Linked DNA regions of Homo sapiens: region 1 is linked to region 2. Evidence: promoter capture Hi-C in human tissues and cell types (Jung and others, 2019). All regions are on one chromosome and are shown on one strand. Each heading gives the region's core, a stretch centred on a gene start or on the middle of the fragment in contact. The rest is flanking DNA. Distances are from core to core; before and after follow the strand shown. Region 1 holds the start of LOC105372405 (a long non-coding RNA gene). Region 2 holds the start of CEACAM5 (CEA cell adhesion molecule 5).

Evidence for each region. Contacts are between HindIII fragments. The study calls those that stand out against the background at their distance.
Region 1: a fragment that was not itself captured here is called in contact with the fragment with the promoter of CEACAM5 in region 2 in 1 of the 25 tissues and cell types used here (mesendoderm cells).

Annotation. Positions count from the first base shown.
Region 1 is chr19:41,657,291-41,663,289 of GRCh38, reverse strand. It overlaps LOC105372405 (a long non-coding RNA gene), which reads left to right and starts at 40. Exons shown (of 3, transcript XR_935972.1): 1 at 40-79. The HindIII fragment of the contact is 7,122 bases long and covers 1-5,049 here.
Region 2 is chr19:41,703,858-41,709,875 of GRCh38, reverse strand. CEACAM5 (CEA cell adhesion molecule 5) reads right to left here and starts at 1,250. Exons shown (of 10, transcript NM_004363.6): 1 at 1,081-1,250; 2 at 1-196. The coding sequence starts at 1,144. RefSeq lists silencers at 2,860-2,909, 2,940-2,989, 3,010-3,129. The HindIII fragment of the contact is 20,290 bases long and covers 1-6,018 here.

The DNA.
Region 1 (5,999 bases), core at 239-2,738, 47 kb after region 2:
TTTGCCTGCTGCCATCCACATAAGATGTGACTTGCTTCTCCTTGACTTCTGCCATGATTCTCCCCAGCCACGTGAAACTGTGAGTCCAATTAAAGCTCTTTCTTTTTCTTTATTTTTAAAAAATTATCCTTTAAGTTCTGGGATACATGTGCAGAACGTGAAGGTTTGTTACTTAGGTATAAATGTGTCATGGTAGTTTGCTGCACCCATCTACCCGTCATCTACATTAGGTATTTCTCCTAATGCTATCCCTCCCCTAGCCCTCCACCCCTGACAGGCTCCAGTGTGTGATGTTCCCCTCTCTGTGCCCATATGTTCTCATTGTTCAACTCCCATTTATGAGTGAAAACAAGCGTGTTTGGTTTTCTGTTCCTGTGTTGGTTTGCTGAGAATAATGGTTTCATTTCATGTCCCTGCAAAGGGCATGAACTCATTCTTTTTTATGGTTGTATAGTATTCCATGGTGTATATGTGCCACATTTTCTTTATCCAGTGTATCATTGATGGGCATTTGGGTTGGTTCCAAGTCATTGCTATGGTGAATAATGCTGCAATAAACATACGTATGCATGTGTCTTTATAGCAAAATGATTTATAATCCTTTGGGTATATACCCAATAATGGGATTGCTGGGTCAAATGGTATTTCTGGTTCTAGATCTGTGAGGAATCACCACAGTGTCTTCCACAATAGCTGAACTAATTTACATTCCCACCAACAGTGTAAAACATTCCTATTTCTCCAATCCTCTTCAGCATCTGTTGTTTCCTGACTTTTTAATGATCACCATTCTAACTGCCATGAGATAGCATCTTACTGTGGTTTTGATTTGCGTGTCTCTAATGACCAGTGATGGTTTGGCTCTGTGTCTGTTCATATGTTTTTTGGCCGCATAAATGTTGTCTTCTTTTGAGAAGTGTCTGTTCATATCCTTTGCCTACTTTTTGATGAAGTTGTTTAGTTTTTTCTTGTAAATTTATTTAAGTTCTTTGTGGATTCTGGATATTAGCCCTTTGTCAGATGGATAGATTGTAAAAATTTTCTCCCATTCTGTAGGTTGCCTGTTAATTTTGCTGATAGTTTCTTTTGCTGTGCAGAAGCTTTTAGTTTAATTAGATCCTATTTGTCAATTTTGGCTTTTGTTGCCATTACTTTTGGTGTTTTAGTCATGAAGTCTTTGCCCATGCCTGTGTCCTGAATGATATTGTCTAGGTTTTCTTCTAAGGGTTTTGTGATTTTAGTTCTTATGTTCAAGTCTTTAATCCGTCTTGAGTTAATTTTTGTATAAAGTGTAAAGAAGCGGTCCAGTTTCAGTTTCCTGCATATGTCAAAGATCAGATGGTTGTAGATGTGTAGTGTTATTTCTGAGGCCTCTGCTCTGTTCCATTCGTCTACGTATCTGTTTTGGTACCAGTACCATGCTCTTTTGGTTACTGTAGGCTTGTAGTATAGTTTGAAGTCAGGCAGCATGATGTCTCCAGCTTTGTTCATTTTGCTTAGGATTGTCTTGGCTATGTGGGATCTTTTTTGTTTCCATATGAAATTTAAAGTAGTTTTTTCTAATTCTGTGAAGAAAGTCAATGGTAGCTTGATGGGAATAGCATTGAAGCTATACACTACTTTGGGCAGTATGGCCATTTTCACGATATTGATTCTCTCTATCCATGAGCATGGAATGTTCTTCCATTTGTTTGTGTCATCTCTTATTTCTTTGAGCAGTGGATTGTAGTTCTCCTTGAAGAGGTCATTCACATCCCTTGTAAGTTGTATTCCTAGGTATTTTATTCTCTTTGTAGCAATTGTGAAGGGGAATTCACTTATGATTTGGCTCTGTTTGTCTATTATTGGTGTATAGATGTGCTTGTGATTTTTGCACATGGATTTTGTATCCTGAGACTTTGCTGAAGTTGTTTATCAAGGAGTTTTGGGGATTAGACAATGGGATTTTCTAAATATACAATTCATGTCATCTGCAAACAGAGACAATTTGACTTCCTCTCTTCTTATATAAATACCCCTTTTTTCTTTCTCTTGCTGATTTCCCTGACCAGAATTTCCAATACTATGTTGAATAGGAGTGGTGACAGAGGGCATCCTTGTCTTCTGACGGTTTTCAAAGGGAGTGTTTCCAGCTTTTGCCCATTCATTATGATACTGGCTGTGAGTTTGTCATAAACAGCTCTTATTATTTTGAGATATGTTCCATCAGTACCTAGTTTATGGAGTGTTTTTAGCATGAAGTTGTGTTGAATTTTATCAAAGGCCTTTTCCGCATCTATTGAGATAATCATGTGTTTTTTCTCACTGGTTCTGTTTATGTGATGGATTACGTTTATTGATTTGCATATGTTGAAACAGCCTTGCATCCCAGGGGTGAATCTGACTTGATCATGGTGGATAAGCTCTTTTTATGTGCTGCTGGATTCAGTTTGCCAGTATTTTATTGAGGATTTTTGCATCAATGTTTATCAGGGATATTGGCCTGAAATATTATTTTCTTGTTGTGTCTCTGCGAGGTTTTTGTATCAGGATGATGCTGGCCTCATAAAATGAGTTAGAGAGGTGTCCCTCTTTTTCTAGTGTTTGTAATAGTTTCAGAAGGAATGGTACCAGCTCGTCTTTGTACCTTTGGTAGAATTTGGCTGTGAATCCATCTGGTGCTGGGCTTTTGTTGGTTGGTAGGCTATTACTGCCTGTCTCAATTTCAGAACTTGTTATTGGTCTATTTTTTTTTTTGGTTGGTAGGCTATTAATTACTGCCTCAATTTCAGAACTTGTTATTGGTCTATTCAGGGATTTGACTTCTTCATGATTTAGTCTTGGGAGGGTGTATGTGTCCAGGAATTTATCTATTTCTTCCAGATTTTCTACTGTATTTGCATAGAGGTGTTTATAGTATTCTCTGATGGTAGTTTGTATTTCTGTGGGATCAGTGGCGATATCCCCTTTATCATTTTTTATTGTGTTTGTTTGATTCTTCTCTCTTTTCTTCTTTATTAGTCTGGATAGTGGTCTATCTATTTTGTTAATCTTTTTAAAAAACCAGCTCCTGGATTCATTGATTTTTTGAAGGGTTTTTCATGTCTCTATCTCCTTCAGTTCTGCTCTGGTCTTAGTTATTTCTTGTCTTCCACTAGCTTTTGAATGTGTTTGCTCTTGCTTCTCTAGTTCTTTTAATTGTGATGTTAGGGTGTCAATTTTAGATCTTTCCCACTTTCTCATGTGGGCATTTAGTGCTACAATTTCCCTCTAAACACTGCTTTATCTGTATCCCAGAGATTCTGGTACCTTGTGTCTTTGTTCTCATTGGTTTCAAAGAACTTATTTATTTCTGCCTTAATTTTGTTATTTACCCAGTAGTCACTCAGGAGCAGATTGTTCAGTTTCCATGTAGTTGTGCGGTTTTGAGTGAGTTTCTTAATCCTGAGTTCTAATTTGATTGCACTGTGGTCTGAGAGACTGTTTGATATGATTTCCGTTCTCTTGTATTTGCTGAGGAGTGTTTTACTTCTAATTATGTGGTCAATTTTAGAATAAGTGCTATGTGGTGCTGAGAAGAATGTATATTCTGTTGATTTGGGGTGGAGAGTTCTGTAGATGTCTATTAGGTCTGCTTGGTCCAGAGCTGAATTCAAGTCCTAAATATCCTTGTTAATTTTCTGTCTCTTTGATCTGTCTAATACTGACAGTGGGATGTTAAAGTCTTCCACCATTACTGTGTGGGAGTCTAAATCTCTTCTTAGTTATCTAAGAACTTGTTTTATGAATCTGGGTGCTCCTGTATTGGGTGCATATATATTTGGGATAGTTAGCTCTTCCTGTTGAATTGATCCCTTTACCATTATGTAATGCCTTTTTTTGCCTTTTTTGATCCTTGCTGGCTTAAAGTCTGTTTTATCAGAGACTAGGATTGCAACCCCTGCTTTTCTTTGCTTTCCATTTGCTTGGTAAATCTTTCTCCATCCCTTTATTTTGAGCCTATGTGTGTCTTTGCACGTGAGATGGGCCTCCTGAATACAGCACACCAATGGTTCTTGACTTTTTATCCAATTTGCAATCTATGTCTTTTAATTGGGGCATTCACCCCATTTACATTTAAGGTTAATATTGTTATGTGTGAATTTGAGCATGTCATATGATGTTAGCTGGTTATTTTGCCCATTAGTTGAGGCAATTTCTTCATTGTGTCAATGGTATTTACATTTTGGTTTGTTTTTGCCGTGGGTAGTACTGGTTTTTCCTTTCCATATTTAGTGTTTCCTTCAGGAGCTCCTGTAAGGCAGTCCTGGTGGTGACAAAATCCCTCAGCATTTGCTTCTCTGTAGAGGATTTTATTTCTCCTTCACTTATGAAGCTTAGTTTGGTCAGATATGAAATTCTGGGTTGAAAATTCTTTTCTTTAAGAATGTTGAATATTAGCCCCCACTCTCTTCTGGCTTGTAGGGTTTCTGCAGATAGATTTACTGTTAGTCTAATGGGCTTCCCTTTGTGGGTAACCCGACCTTTCTCTCTGGCTGCCCTTAACATTTTTTCTTTCATTTCAACCTTGGTGAATCTGACAGTTATGTGTCTTGGGGTTGCTCTTCTCAAGGAGTATCTTAGTGGTGTTCTCTGTATTTCCTGAATTTCAATGTTGGTCTGTCTTGCTAGGTTGGGGAAGTTCTCCTGGATAATATCCTGAAGTGTGTTTTCCAACTTGGTCCCATTCTCCCCTATCACATTAAGGTACACCAATCAAACATAGGTTTGGTCTTTTCACATAGTCCCATATTTCTTGGAGGCTTTGTTGATTCCTTTCATTCTTTTTTCTCTAATCTTGTATTCACACTTTATTTCATTAAGTTCATCTTCAATCTCTAATATCCTTTCTTCCACTTGATCGATTCAGCTATTGATACTTGTATACGTTTCATGAAGTTCTCATGCTGTGTTTTTCAGCTCCATCAGATTATTCATGTTCTTCTCTAAACTGGTTATTCAAGTTAGCAGTTCCTGTAACCTTTTATCAAGAGTCTTTGCTTCCTTGCATTGAGTTAGAACATGCTCCTTTAGCTTAGAGGAGTTTGTTATTACTCACCTTCTGAAGTCTACTTCTGTCAATTTGTCAAACTCGTTCTCTGTCCAGTTTTGTTCCCTTGTTGTGATCCTTTGGAGGAGAAGAGGTATTCTGATTTTTGGAATTTTTAGCCTTTTTGTGCTGGTTTATCCTCATCTTTGCGGATTTATCTACCTTTGGTCTTTGATGTTGGTGACCTTTGGATGGGGTTTTTGCTTGGGCATCCTTTCTGTTGATGTTGATATTATTACTTTCTGTTTGTTAGTTTTCCTTCTAATGGTCAGCCCCCTCTTCCGCAGGTCTGCTGGAGTTTGCTGGAGGTCCACTCCACACCCTGTTTGTCTGGGTATCACCAGTGGAGCCTGCATAACAGCAAAGATTGCTGCCTGCTCCTTCCTCTGGAAACTTCATCCCAGAGGGGCACTCACCAGGTGCCAGCCAGAGCTCTCCTGTATGAGGTCTCAGTAAACTCCTGTTGGAAAGTGTCTCCCAGTCAGGTGGCACGGGTGTCAGGGACCTGCTTGAGGAGGCAGTCTGTCCCTTAGCAGAGTTCAAGTGCTGTGTTGGGAGATCTGCTGCTCTCTTCAGAGCTGGTAGGCAGGAACGTTTAAGTCTGCTGAAGCTGTGCCCACAGCCATCCCTTCCCCCAGGTGTTGTTTCCCAGGGAGATGGGAGTTTTATCTATAAGCTTCTGACTGGGGCTGCTGCCTTTCTTTTAGAGATGTCCTGCCCAGAGAGGAGAAATCTAGAGAGCCAGTCTGGCTACAGTGGCTTTGCCATGCTGCTGTGGGTTCTGCACCCAGTTTGAACTTCCTGGAGGCTTTGTTTACACTGTGAGGGGAAAACCATCTACTCAAGCCTCACTAATGGTGGACGCCCCTCCCCCCACCAAGTTCAAGCTTCCCACATAGACTTCAGACTGCTGTGCTGGCAGCGAGAATTT
Region 2 (6,018 bases), core at 1-2,500:
TGAGTTCCTATTACATATCCTATAATTTGACGGTTGCCATCCACTCTTTCACCTTTGTACCAGCTGTAGCCAAAAAGATGCTGGGGCAGATTGTGGACAAGTAGAAGCACCTCCTTCCCCTCTGCGACATTGAACGGCGTGGATTCAATAGTGAGCTTGGCAGTGGTGGGCGGGTTCCAGAAGGTTAGAAGTGAGGCTAGGAGAGAGCAGAGAGCATCGGTCAATATTGGGACCTATGCATTAGGGTGGAAAAATGGGGTCCTGGGTCCTGAGCAGGTCTCTTCATCCCCCAGCCCTGGAGTGAGTGAGTGTGTGTGTGTGTGTGTGTGTGTGTGTGTCCTACTAGGTCAAGGTCAGCAGTGTGTCTCCTATTTCCTTAGCACCTCTGACCTTGGCATTTCCCTGTGTGGAATCTGCTTTTCCAGGGGTCTTCACGGCTCCCTCCCCATTGCCTTCAGGTCCTGCTCACATCAGGGCATTCTTGGGAGATCCCTTCCCTGACACCTCCTCTAGAGACCCTGGGTCTTCCTTTTCTGACCTTTCCCTGCTCTATTCCCTCCAGGGCTCTTGTCAACACCTGACCTCACATTCTAGATCTCTTTGTATGTCTGTCTTCCTCCCCATGAGAGCATGAGCTTCATGAGGGCAGGGATTTGTGTGATCTTGGTTGCACCCCAGTGCCTGGGACAGGCTGCAGATTCCTGTGGATGAGTTCATGAGGGTTCCCAGGGCCCTCCACAGCCTGGGGCTTATTTTCCAATGTCCGCGGTAGGCGGATGAGGACAGTGTTTCATGCCCTGGTTATGTTTTTATTTAAAGTGTCATCTGATGCAGTTATTATGATTTTTAAAAACGTAGTGGCCAGTGACAATTAACTAGGAAAATAGAACTCTTGAGGTTTTCCTGCCCCTTTCCAATTCCAGTTCAATTTGATTTTTCTGGTGTGACTCCTGTCCCTCTCTGATGTCCTCTTCCCTATTCAGGCTCCAACAGGAGCCCTCTGTCCGTCTCACAGCCCTGTCCTACCCAGGAGACCCCAGCTCCCTCCTCCCACCCTCTCCCAGGTTGTCCTCCCTTCACCTGTGAGCAGGAGCCTCTGCCAGGGGATGCACCATCTGTGGGGAGGGGCCGAGGGAGACTCCATGGTCTCTGCTGTCTGCTCTGTCCTCCTCTGTGGAGAAGAGCTTGAGTTCCAGGAACGTTTTGTCAAGGCTGCTGTGACTGTCTGGTCTGCTGTCCTTCCTCCCTCTGCCCTGAGTCTCTTCCTAGGGCAGGAGTACTTCTCAGCATCACGTGGGTCATGGGTGTGGTCTTTATTCAGGTGTCCTCTGTCCCCTCCCCTCTCATTTCTGCCTCTTTTGTCCCTCCTCTTTTTTCCCTTCTATTTTCAGTTCCTCAGACAAATCTTTTCGGCAAGGTGGATGGACCCCCATCCCCTGGGAGGACAACCTGTCTTCCCCAGTGCTGACCTCTGCTGTGTTCTGTCCTTGGGTCTGTCACACCAGGGGGATTATTTTCCTTTGTGACAGAGAAACCCAGCAGGGTCCCGGGTCTCCCCATGCTCTCCAGGGCTCTGGGAAGGTGGGATGATGCCCAACAGGAAGGTGACAGAGGTGGCTCTGGGGGCTAGAAAAAGGCTCACTGGGTGGTGGCTGGGGAGGGACCAGCCCTCTGTCTCCAGTACCACCAACCCCGCCACTGACCCAGGGATGGAGACCCAGGCCCAGAGGTCTCAGGAGTCCCCAGATCCTGCATGTGGAGGGGGAGGTGTCTTGTGTGTCCTGGAAAGAGAGGACTGTGGTGGAGGGAGGTGGGTGACTCTGGGCTCTGCTGTCCTTGGGGAAGGCTCCAGGGGGACCCTCCCTCTCCGTGTCTGTTGGCTGAGCTGCGGCTCAGGGCCTGTCCATGTTCTCCCTGACAGTCCTGGGTGGTCTCTGTCCTCTGCGAGGCTGACTGTCCTGTGATCACCCCACCTTCCCCATGGTGGTACCAGGAGGGAGTCTGGAGTTGCACAGGGACCCCTGGCAGAACAGGGTCCTCATAGGACCCAGAAAGGAACAGAGCAGGTATGTGGGAGAGATCAGAAGGGTCTGTTGGAGCAAGGGATGGAAACCAGGCTCCACCTCCACTTCCTTAGCAAAGCCAGGTTCCTGTCCAGGGGAATCCGTTTCCTGAGTGATGTCTGTGTGCAATGTCACCCCCTGGAGGGCAAGAGGAGACCTCCGGCCTTGTCTGGAACTGCCCTAGGGATGCTGACCAGGGTCGACGTGGTGTGAGCTGACCCTGAACTCTGGATTAGGCTGCAGGGTCAGGCCGGAGGATCTATTCCCTGCAGGCCTCTGTCCTCCCTTCTGAAGCTCTGGGGGTTGAGGCCTCATTCCTGGGGCAGCCGCGGGCACTTGCTGGCCTCCTCCCATGCTGGTGCCAGTGCCCCTGTGTCCACATGGAACAGACTCTGACTGCTGGGGGCCACACGGAGGTGATATGCTTCTTTTTAGAGATCTCCCACACATTTAACCAGTATTTATGGAGCATCTGTTCCGTGTCAGGCACTGGGCTGGGCCCTGGGATTCCACAGAGAGCAGGACAGACGTGGTCCCTGTCACAGAGTTTTCCTGTAACCGGGAGACAGGCGCTCAGTGAACTTCATGGGACTGAGGAGTTAATGGTAATGACAGGGCTGTGAGGTGACAGCATAGGGGGCGTCGGAGCCTGTGAGAGACTGAGCTGTCCTGGAGATCACAGGGAGCTGCCCTGGGAGACGCCCTTTCAGCTGAGCCCGGGGAAGGAGGGGGTGTAGGGGACAGGAGCTGCCTGCAGAGGGCAGCCGACAGGCCTCAAGTGGGCGGCCGACAAGCCTCAGGTGGGCGGCCGATAGGCTGCAGGGAGGAGCTGACAGAGTCCGTGTGAGGAGCTCGGAGGGCGAGGAGGACGTGGGCCGAGGTGACCCGGGTGAGGGTGGACCCTGCTGGGCTGTGGGCCCGGCTGAGGGAGGTCAGCAGCCCCTGGGGAGGCTCCAGGGTGGGAGGAACTCTGCCGCCCTCTGGTGGACAGGAGGGAAGTGGGGACAGCAGCGGCCCCAGACCAGGCTGTTTTACTCAACACTGATCTCTAGACATTGAACACGGGTCATGCACATGTTATGCCAAAGTGCTACCAGGTTTCAGCTCGGTGAGCCCCAGTCTCTGTGGCTACAAGTGTACTGTCCTCCCTCTTTCACAATCAGATGTCCCCAAATGCAGATTTTTGTCACCTTTTGTGACTTTGCTTTTGTCGGCAGGAGGCTGCGCTGTGCATGCTCCCAGGGGCAGTGATGTCTGGGGCTAAGCGTGTGCGGGGATCTGGGAGTAGAAGATTGTATTAGTCTGTCCTCGCATTGCTATAAAGAAATACCTGAGACTGGGTAATTTATAAAGAAAAGAGGTTTAATTCGCTCATCATTCTGCAGTTGTACAGGAAGCATAGTGGCTTCTGCTCCTGGGGAGGCCTCAGAAAACTTACAATCATTCTGGACGGTGAAGGGGAAACAGGAACGTCTTACATGGCAGAGCATGAGTAAGAGAGAGAGAGAGAGAGGGGAGAGGTGCTACACACTTTTAAACAACCAGATCATGTGAGATCTCTATCACAGAAACAGCATCAAAGCAGAAAATCCACCCGCATTATCCAATCACTTCTCACAAGGCCCCACCTCCAACATTGGGGTTTACAATTTGACATGAGATTTGGGCGGGGACATAGATCCAAATCATATTTGAGAGAGAGGGGCATGAGGAGAAGGTGAATGTTGGGGTAGCAGAGAGGAGCAGGGACAAGTCAACCTCACTTCTCACTCCCTGGGGACCAGAACAGGAGAGCCCGACTCTGGGGGCACAGCACCACACACTCTGTGTGTCCGTGCATCAGGGGAGGTGGGAGCTGCTTCTCTGTTCATGGGACCTGGCCTCACCTGCTGAGATGTCTTCACACTTAGTCCCATCCTGGGCTGCAGCCCCACAGAGCCTGTGTCCTCCTCTCCTCTCCTGCCCATTCCTGGATTTTTCTTCCTGAACCATCTTCTCCCATCTGTGGCTTCACCTGCTCCCGTTTCAGGCAGCTGCCCCTGGATCATTGCCCTGTCACCATCTCTGGGCTCACTGGCCTCTGCCATTTGTTCTGAGACTTGAGCCCTGAGCCCTGAGCCCTGTGAGGGAGGAAGAGTGAAGTGGGGTGGGCGCTGTCCAAGGTGCTGCCCTCTCTGGACAGCTTGAGTGAGGGACCCTGATGTGTCACCTGGGAGGAGGCTCCGGGAGGGAGCTGTGTCAGGGATGCCTGGATCAGGGGGATGGGGCACCTACACCAGGGTGAGCTGGACCTGTGGACTGCAGGAACCCTGCTCTGTGTCATCCATCAGCTCCTCGAGCCCCGTCTTCCTCTCTGTACCTGATTCTCTGGTGTGATCCCTGAGCCCGCGCTAGAGTCCTCCTCACAATGCCTAATGGTCAGATCTATGTGTGGAGACCTAACGGTGGGGGGGTGGGGAGGTCTCGTGTGCTCACACAGAGTGCCCTGGGGACAGGCTTTATGACCTCCCTTGTCCCAATCCCACAACAAGATCTGGACAGTGGGCCGGGTCAGATAAAGTCAGAATCCACGAGAAGGGTGTGTGTCCTGGCAGTGCTGAGGTTTGTGCCCCCAGCTTTACTCTCAGTCTGTTTGCAGATACATTTATGTTGTGCACCTGCAGTTGGCTGGGAAGCCTCATGTCCTTAAATCCTTAGTTATTCCTGTGCAGGTCATGAGGGGCCTGTACCTGGGTACAATGAGGACTATCTGATTAGGGTGGGTGTATTTTACATGGTGGGCTTTCCCTCTCCCAGTGTTTCTTGGATGTAGTCAAATACATAAGATAAAATATGCCACATTAATCATGTTAAGTGTACAATTAAATGCCGTTAATTATATTCACAATATTCTACATCCTCACCACTATATTTTTTTTTCCAGAACATTTTCATCATCTCACATAGAAACTTCATACTATTAATCATTAACTCTCCACCTTCCCCTGCCCCTAGCCCTTGGTAGCCACTGATGCTATCTTTCTCTTTTTTTTTGAGACAGAGTCTCATTCTGTCACCCAGGCTGGAGTGCAGTGGTGTGATCTCGGCTCACTGCAACCTCTGCCTCCCGGGTTCAAGCAATTCTCCTGCCTCGGCCTCCCAGAGGCACCTAGGTGACCTAACTCTTAAGAGCCTGGGGCCGGCAGGTGGGTGTCCTAGGCATAAATGGTGCCCACTGGACTGGAGGAAGGTGAGAAGCCATGGGTATTCCATGTCTTCTCCCAGCTTCCCAGCTCCTGGGTTGGTGCTGTCCTGCAGTAGGCAGTGGGTAGATGGGCATGGCTGCACGTTAGGCTGGGAAACATGTCGTCCTCTCAGACATTGTCACTGCAGAAGGAGGATTCTGTTCACAGGCCTGGTATGGGCATATGGGAGAGACCACCCTGTTCTCATCAGGGGCTTAGACACTGGTGTTCCCACTCCTGGTGCTGCCTCCTGCTTTCCCTGCCCTGGCCCTCAAGGAAGAGCGGCTCCTGGTCAAAGCTCCATCTCTCTCTCTGAGGCTTCAGCATGGTCTCATTGGTGCAGGGGTCTGGGTAAACCTCAGAGAGAGAGGCTCTGAAGAGCGGGGCACCTGCTGGGGATGCAGAAGGGTCCCCACTATGCTTAAGGGGAGTAATCCTGAGGGTCCCAAGGCTCCTCACCACTACCAGGTGCCAAGAAACTCCCAGCAAATTGGGGCTGCCTTGTGGCGAAGCACCTCCAAGCCTCGCTGCCTGCCATGTGCAGTGATTGGTGGATCCCAGTTAGGGGCATCTTGGCAGGTGGTCACAGATTCAGGGCTGGACTTGGTGCTCACAGTCCATATGTGTTGTAGACCCCAGGCAGGGTTCTGTGGCATGGTTTTGGATGTTCACAGGTATCTGCCCTGGAGAAGTGGGCAGTAATTTGACTTCCAGAAGTTCTTGACATCTGC